2 separate regions of the Homo sapiens genome follow, and region 1 is linked to region 2. The links are contacts of gene promoters, found by promoter capture Hi-C in blood cells and fetal thymus (Javierre and others, 2016). All regions are on one chromosome and are shown on one strand. The core of a region is centred on a gene start or on the middle of the fragment in contact, and the rest is flanking DNA. Distances in the headings are between cores, read along the strand shown. Region 1 overlaps PHF12 (PHD finger protein 12). Region 2 holds the start of SUPT6H (SPT6 homolog, histone chaperone and transcription elongation factor).

What was found. Contacts are between HindIII fragments. The CHiCAGO score rates a contact against its expected background, and 5 or more counts as called.
Region 1: a contact is called between a fragment that was not itself captured here and the fragment with the promoter of SUPT6H in region 2, in 1 of 17 cell types (activated CD4 T cells). The highest score is 5.8, in activated CD4 T cells.

What each region holds. Positions count from the first base shown.
Region 1 is chr17:28,927,347-28,931,385 of GRCh38, reverse strand. The region is part of intron 2 of PHF12 (PHD finger protein 12); the gene reads left to right. All of the region lies in intron 1 of LOC101927018 (a long non-coding RNA gene), which reads right to left. Among named protein-coding and RNA genes, the nearest start is that of PHF12, 22 kb to the left of the region's middle. The HindIII fragment of the contact is 610 bases long and covers 1,126-1,735 here.
Region 2 is chr17:28,659,528-28,663,869 of GRCh38, reverse strand. SUPT6H (SPT6 homolog, histone chaperone and transcription elongation factor) reads right to left here and starts at 1,665. Exons shown (of 37, transcript NM_003170.5): 1 at 1,528-1,665. SDF2 (stromal cell derived factor 2) reads left to right here and starts at 1,964. Exons shown (of 3, transcript NM_006923.4): 1 at 1,964-2,144. The coding sequence starts at 1,994. RefSeq lists enhancers at 875-1,549, 1,647-1,716, 1,078-2,277. The HindIII fragment of the contact is 397 bases long and covers 1,346-1,742 here.

The DNA.
Region 1 (4,039 bases), core at 181-2,680, 270 kb before region 2:
TACTCGGGAGGCTGAGGCAAGGGAATCGCTTGAACCCTGGAGGCAGAGGTTGCAGTGAGCCAAGATCGCGCCACTGCACTCCAGCCTGGGCAACTGAGCAAGACTCCGTCTCAAAAAAAAAAAAAAAAAGGAATGATGGCCTCAGTCTTTTAAATGTTTTGTCTTCATCTGGGAGACAATGCTTGGGTTTCCCTGGACTACTCCCTAAATTCATAGCCCCTATCCATACTTTAGGGCAGGCTTAACAAAGGGAGCCTGTGGTCATTATCTAGAGTTCTGAGGAATGTGTGGTTTTGTTTGTTTGTTTTTTGTTGTTGTTATTTTTGAGACAGGGTCTCACTCTGTTGCCCAAACTGGAGTGCAGTGGCACGATCACGGCTCTACCTCCCAGGCTCAAGTGATCCTCTCACCTCAGCCCCACAAGTAGCTGGGGCTATAGGCTCATGCCGCCTCACCTGGCTAATTTTTTGTATTTTTAGTAGAGGTGGGGTTTCACCATGTCGCCCAGGCTGGTCTTGAACTCCTGGGCTCAAGCAATCCACCCACCTCGGCCTCACAAAGTGCTGGTATTACAGGCATGAGCTACTGCACCCGGCCAGAAGTGTGTTCTTAAACTTGGTAACTCTAAAAGTGATCCTTTAGAAACTAGCAAGATGCTACTTCTGAGAGCCTCTTAATACAAGTTTAAGCATTTTACCTTGTGTTAAGATAAACGATATTGAAAATCAAATTGTTTAAAGAAGATTAAAATGAGTAGAGGTGGGATGGTTCAGTAAGTACAGGCTTGCCAGTATGGACTTGGACTCCTCTTCTGTCTCATTGTGTAGTAACTTAGAAAACATAAGTAATTTCATGTGTGATTTAACCCACAAAACAGTTGCCTGCCCCATTGCATTACCTCCCCTCATAGCTTTGAAGGATTACACTCACTTCCTAGAAGCCCATTCCTTAGTGTTCCCCAGTTCTTTAAAGCTTTATTGAGTACTTACTACATGCCAGGCATTGTACAGGGTGTGGAGGTACAAAGGCAAATGAGGCATGGAGAAGGGGATTCAGACATGTAATGGTTTGAATACAGTGTGGTGCAGAAGTGCTCTGTGGAACCAGAGACTTTCAGAGAAAGCTTCCTGGAAAGAATACGTGACTTGAGTCTCAAAAGATAAAGAGCTTACCAGGTGAAGTAGTTAGGGAAGAGTGGTGTAGTTGTGGGTAGCAGCCCTGGAGTGAGCAGAGACACAGATGAGAAACAGTATGGTCTGTGTAGGGAGCCGGCCAACTGATTGAGCTGGAGAAAGAAGAGGGTTCTGGCCACAGGGGTCTTATCTTCTCTACTTTAAATGTTTTAAATGTTTGATGTAGGATATCTTGGTACAAAGCCAGTGGGCAGATGAACAGAAATGATGAGAAACAGAATCAGAAGTGACACCCTTCAGGGTTAATTTTGATAGGACAGCTACTGAAGCATAGCAGAGTCTGTAGGCCTTTGAAAATTACTTGCATGCATTTCAGTAGTTTAGATGTGGCCTTTTGTAGAATTACATTGGCTAGAATGAGCGGAGACTTACAGGTGACATTCACCTGTGGTCCTCTAGGGCTTGGAGATCTGTCCCAGCAGGCCATTGTTTTTCCAGTTTCCTGATTCCTGGTAAGCATCCTCCTGAGATTTCACTAAGGAAACAGGGAGGAAGGGAAGTAATGAGCTGTGAAGCCTTGGTGGGCATCTGACATGTAAGCTTGGGGCTCTGGGGAAACAGGGAGCTAAGAAAATTTGCCAAGTCAAGTGCTATTTTATGTAGAAATGGTAAAACAGCATAGCTTTAAGCTCTGAGATACTCAAGTTTGGCTGGGCACAGTGGCTCACGCCTGTACACCCAGCACTTTGGGAGGCCGAGGTTGGTGGATCACCTGAGGTCAGGAGTTCAAGACCAGTCTGACCAACATGGAGAAACCCCATCTCTACTAAAAATACTAAAAAATTTGCCAGGCATGGTGGCGCATGCTTGTAATCCTAGCTACTCAGGAGGCTGAGGCGGGAGAATTGCTTGAACATGGGAGGCGGAGGTTGCAGTGAGCCAAGATCGCACCATTGCACTCCAGCCTGGGCAACAAGAGCAAAACTCCATCTCAAAAAAAAATACTCAATTTTTTTTTTTTTTTACCATTTCCCCCATTATTTGAAGAAAAATTTCCTGCATACCATTCCAAGTAGGTGACTTAGCCAAGAACTCAATGGTAGGAATTTCTTAAGCATAAATGTGGTTTTTGTTGTTGTTGTTGTTGTTTTGTTTTTGAGACAGAGTCTCACTCTGTCGCCCAGGCTGGAGTGCAGTGGCACTGTCTCGGCTCACTGCAACCTCCACTTCCCAGGTTCAAGCGATTCTCCTGCCTCGGCCTCCTGAGTAGCTGGGACTACAGGCGCGTGCCACTACACCCGGCTAATTTTTGTATTATTAGTAGAGACAGGGTTTCACCATGTTGGCCAGGCTGTTCTCAAACTCCTGACGTCGTGTTCTGCCTGCCTCGGCCTCCCAAAGTGCTGGGATTACAAGTGTAAGCCACCATGCCTGGCCTGTTTTTTGGTTTGGTTTGTTTGTTTGTTTGTTTGTTTTGAGATGGAGTTTTGTCACGCAGGCTGGAGTGCAATGACATAATCTTGGCTCACTGCAACTTCCGCCTCCCGAGTTCAAAGGATTCTCCTGCCTCAGCCTCCCAAGTAGCTGGGATTACAGGTGCCCACCACCACGCCCAGCTAATTTTTGTATTTGTAATAGAGATGGGGTTTCACCGTGTTAGCCAGGCTGGTCTTGAACTTCCAATCTCAGGTGATCTGCTGTGTGCACAACCTCTGTATTATAAAAATACAAGGAGGGAAGAGATCCAATCATTGTCCTAGTCCCTCTAATAAAATAAGTAAGAGAACTGCTGAAATGGGCAAAGCATGAGAAGTGCCAAAAGAGAACTAACCCATGCAGCAAGAGGTCCAAGATACAGGAGTAATATGAACTCATGGAAAAGCTGTTTGGTTATCTATTGTTGCATAACAAACTACGCCAAAACTCATTGGCCTGGTACAGAAACTCATTATTATCTCTCACAGTTCTGAGGGTTGCCTGGGCTCTGCTGGGTGGTTTTTCTGTTTCACATGATGTTGGCTGGGACTGCAGTCATTTGGAGGCTTCACTGAACTGGTAAGTCCAAGATGACTCACTCACATAGCAGTAGTTGCTGCTGCGTGTTGGCTTGGAGTTCAGCTGAAGCTGGTTTTTTGTTTTCTCAAGATGGAGTTTCACTCTGTTGCCCAGGCTAGAGTGCAGTGGTGTGATCTTGGTTCACTGCAACCTCCACCTCCCAAATTCAAGCAATTCTTCTGCCTCAGCCTCCCAAATAGCTGGGATTACAGGCATGTGCCACCATATTTGGCTAATTTTTATATTTTTAGTAGAGATGGGGTTTCGCCATGTTGGCCAGGCTGGTCTTGAACTCCTGATCTCGAGTGATCCACCAGCCTCGGCCTCCCAAAGTGCTGGGATTCCAGGTGTGAGCCACCACGCCCAGCCCAAAACTGTTGATTGGAATACCTTGTCTCCTCCATGTCCTCTCTCATAGCATGACAGCAGGGCTCTGAGATGGAACTTTCCAAGCATATTTCTTAAAAAATAGAATCTGCAGATCTCTTAAGGCCAAGCTTTGGAAGTTGCAACATTGTCACCTCTGCTGCATTCTGTGGTCAAAGCAAGTCATAAGACAAGCACAATTCAAGAGGAGGGAAAGGGACTACCTGTGGATGGGAGGCAGAGCAGATAATTTGCAGCTGTCTTTAATCCATCACAGCTGATTGAGGCAGGTATGAAAGGATGAATAGAGTTTTGACAGGCATAGCTTTCTAAAGGAAGAGTATTCTAGAGGAAGAAATAGGAAGTCTTCCATTTGAATAGTGGGAAGAGCACCTGAAGGGGTCTGGGAAGATGGAACGGTGGGACCATGTGACAGGGCTTTGAACAGCAGTTAGAAAAGCTTGGCTCTACACTAACAGGCTTTA
Region 2 (4,342 bases), core at 416-2,915:
AACAGAGCAAGACCCTGTCTCCACAAAAAAAAAAAAAAAAATGGAGTGGGCAGAAGAGAAGCCAGATTGGTATAAAATGAAGAGTGAATGAAAGTTGAGAAAGCTGAGTTGGTACAGGTAGAAATCTATGAATGGAAATTTAAAAAATTGGCATGGTAATTGGAGAGGGATGTGAAGGATACCAGAACATAATTTGTATGCTGATGGGAACAGTTTCAGGGAGAGACAGGATTTGGTGACTGATTTTATTGGGAAATAGTGGACAGGAAGGAAGACAAGGATTACAGGCAGGACTGATGGTAGTGCCATTTATTAAGGTCAAGAATATAGAATCAGGGCAAACGTATTTGCCTACAAAGATCATGTTTCCACCACACTAGGTAGGCTTTCAGAGGAAGAACTGTAAAATTTGACTAAGCCTCTCCAGACGGTACCACTTTCTGATGTAATTAATCTCCTGATGAAGTTAAAACCTCCTAGAGTTGCAAGGCTATGCTAATCCAATCTAGCAGCCACACAAGCCAAGTGAATAAAAATGTACTTGTACTGGTGAAAGGGACATTACTCGTAAAAAAGGGCTCTAAATTCACAGCTGATGGAAGAGCAGTTATGTTTCTGTAATCAAAACACTGAAGACTTACAAACTGGTAACTTCCAGATAAACAGTGGAACCAGACATTTTTCCGAAGAAATTAATCAAATTCAATATTGTTTACACTCCCTAATGCTCATTAATGATGTAGCTTCATACACCCTTGTTACTTTTGATATTACAGTGAATTTCCACGGAAGTATTTTCAGAGATCTTAGCCCTCTGAAATAAGTATCAGTTCTTGCAACAACCCAGGAAAATTAACTTCTCCAGCTGGTTCAAAGGAGTGCCTGAGGAGAAAGGTAGAAACTAGAAGATGGAGTTTTGACTTAATAACTAATTTTGATGTTCATGATAGGCCTCTGGCAAACGTTTGAGGAAATGAATCTATAGAGAATGGACGGGCTTTAGGACTTCTACAAGACCTTCGATCTTTAGAAAGGGATGAAGGATGCAACCATCTACAAAAAGTTCTATTTGTATTATTCAGCAATATGTAAAGAGCTGGAATTTGGCATCGCCCTCTAGCCTGATGGCCGAGCTGCTGAAAGCTCCACAGGATTCATATCCCCAGAACAAACAACTCGATCACCTGATCCTGGCTCAGAAGCCCCAGGTCCCTTCCATCCCCAATCCTTTTGCGTGGCCCAGTTTTAAAAACCTGCGGAGAGAAGGACGGGATGCCAGGAAGCCTGTTGATTCAACGTGCCACCCGATTCACGGGTTCCGGGTGTCACTGGGCTGGGAAAAGCTTTCGGACTCTGAGCAACTACAGCGCTTTCCTCCCCCTTCCCCCCATAGAGCAGGGAAGGCCAGGCTCCCCCTTCTTCCCGCATACGGCTCCCCACTGCCTCTTCCCTTACGTGACCAGGCCCTAGGAGCCCGGTTCCCCACCTGACTCCTGCGAGAAACACGCTCTCCAGTCGGAACTTTACCTGTCTGAAGCCCGCCGCTCCTCCAGTGCGCTAAGCCCCCACCGAGGAAAATGGAGTCGTCGAACCGAGACTGGGAAAAGATAGTACGGACCCACCGCACGGCCCCTCCGCCGCCACCGCCGCCGCTGCTGCGTCAACGTGCTACGTCATTTCCGGCTCCCTGTCACCGGGAGTGGGCGGGCCATTTCTTGTTCTCTCTCCCGCTCTCGGAAGCTTTCGTCTCGTGGGTGCGAAAGGTAACCGAAGCGGCTCAGGAAGGCAGCTGTCACTGAGCCCCTGGAACAGAGCGAGAGTATCGTAAGTAACCAGGCTCAGCCGGTTTCTCAGGCCGCTCTAGTCAAATAAACCATAAAGATCAGACTCGGGCTTCTTCACTTCCTTCTCTCCGTGGTTTCGCCATTAGCTTCCGGTTCCGGGGAGGGGCCGAGTTTTCTTCGAAGATTTGGGGCTCCGCGATACAGTTAGGATGGCTGTAGTACCTCTGCTGTTGTTGGGGGGTTTGTGGAGCGCTGTGGGAGCGTCCAGCCTGGGTGTCGTTACTTGCGGCTCCGTGGTGAAGCTACTCAATACGCGCCACAACGTCCGACTGCACTCACACGACGTGCGCTATGGGTCAGGTAATGCTGGGGACCGGGCTCGGGTGGGCTAGGGAGGACTCGGAGGCTCTGGAGGGGCGGGGCCTATAGAATATCTGACAGTGTGGTCTGGGAAAGTTAGGGGTTCCCTGGGAAGGTTCCTCAGGTCTAGAGAGTCGGAGAACTGAATTGTTCTAAGGCATCTTAATCGCAACACCACCTAATATTTGGTGAGCTACAGGCCAGGCACGTTACCTATGTCCTTTTTCCGATTATTAACATTGTTGTAAGGTGGACAGTATTGTTATCCTCATTTCACAGATGAGGAAACAGACGCAGAGAAATTAAATCGTTTATTCAAAGCCTTGCAGTTAGCAAATGACAAAGTCGGGGTTCTATCCAAATCTATCCAGGTTCAAAGCCTGCTTTAGAGACAAGAAAATTACAGTAAGTGCTGTGTCTGAAATTTTAAAGTTACAGTAAGTACTGTCTGTGAAACTTTAAACTCCAAGAGCTCACTCGTTGACTACAACCCTTTGTCTTCCAGCTCTTCTGCATCTTACACTTGCTCCTCAGTTTCCATCTTTGGCCCCCTTCTACCCAAACCTTAACCTCCTTCTTGTAAGAAACTTGGAGCAGTGACAGGAATTGCAGAGAAAACTGCTTTTTTTTTTTTTTTTTTTTAGCGTTTGAAATTAAAATGTTTAGTAATAAATTATTTGTGGATTCATTCAGCATAGGTCTTAATGAGTTCCTACTACATGGCTAGAATTGTACTACATACAGGAGATTCGGTGGTGATAATCAGTCAAGAAAATTACAATATAATAAAAACAGACTAAAAAAAGAAAGTCTTATCTGCCTGAAAAAAAAAGATAAAGTTAAAAAAAAAGAATGAAGGTCAGCTAGTGAGATGTGAGAGGCATCTAAGATAGCTGGTAGATTTTTGTCTTGAATGACTGATGATGCTGTTTGCTGAGGGAGGAAAGAGTTCTGTCAGGTGGGCTAGTCTGGTTCATGATTCCCAAAACCCATCTGATCAGTCAGACTAGGCAAGGACATGAGTTATCATCACTGCGATGTCTTAATAATTCTAGCACCCATTCAGTGAACACCTACCATGTTGTCAGGCTTATTTTTTACTTTGTTTTGGTTTCCTACTTTGGATCTACTGAATTAGAGTGGAGGTGGACAGAGGCTTGGCAGTAGCAATCTGTAGGTTTAAAAAGCTCTTCAGGTGGTTCTGATGGACAGCCAGATTTGGGAACCAGGTTCAGTCCGGAGCTCAGAAAAGGGATCTGTGCTGAGCCTGAGATACAACATTAAATATAACATCTTGTACAGACTGTGGTTGAAGATGTCAGGGTTGTAGATGAAATTGCCCAGAATGAACTGTGATTCTCTATCTGGGATTAATTTGAATAACTGGAGAAACTTGTTAAAAATACAAATGCTTTTGTCCTGACCCTCAACAATTGTTTAAGAACTACAGGTAGCCCTCTCCGTCTCCCTCTCTTGTCTCTTCTCTCTTTCCACGGTCTCCCTCTGTTGCCGAGGCTGGACTGTACTGCCGTGATCTCGGCTCGCTGCAACCTCCCTGCCTGGGGCTCCCGTGATTCTCCTGCCACGGCCTGCCGAGTGCCTGGGATTGCAGGCACACGCCGCCATGCCTGACTGGTTTTCGTATTTTTGGTGGAGACGGGGTTTCGCCGTGTTGGCTGGGCTGGTCTCCAGCTCCTGACCTCGAGTGATCTGCCTGCCTCAGCCTCCCGAGGTGCTGGGATTGCAGATGGAGTCTTGCTCACTCAGTGCTCAGTGTTGCCCAGGCTGGAGTGCAGTGGTGTGATCTTGGCTCACTACAACTTCCACCTCCCAGCCGCCTGCCTTGGCCTCCCAAAGTGCTAAGAGTACAGCCTCTGCCCGGCCGCCACCCCGTCTAGGAAGTGAGGAGCGTCTCTGCCTGGCCGCCCATCGTCTGGGATGTGAGGAGCGCCTCTGCCTGGCCGCCCCGTCTGGGATATGAGGAGGGCCTCTGCCCGGCCGCCACCCCGTCTGGGAAGTGAGGAGCACCTCTGCCCGGCCATCACCCTGTCTGGGATGTGAGGAGCGTCTCTGCCTGGCCGCCCTGTCTAGGAAGTGAGGAGCGCCTCTGCCTGGCCGCCCCGTCTGGGAAGTGAGGAGCGCCTCTGCCCGGCCGCGCCATCTGGGATGTGAGGAGTGCCTTTGCCCGGCTGCCACCC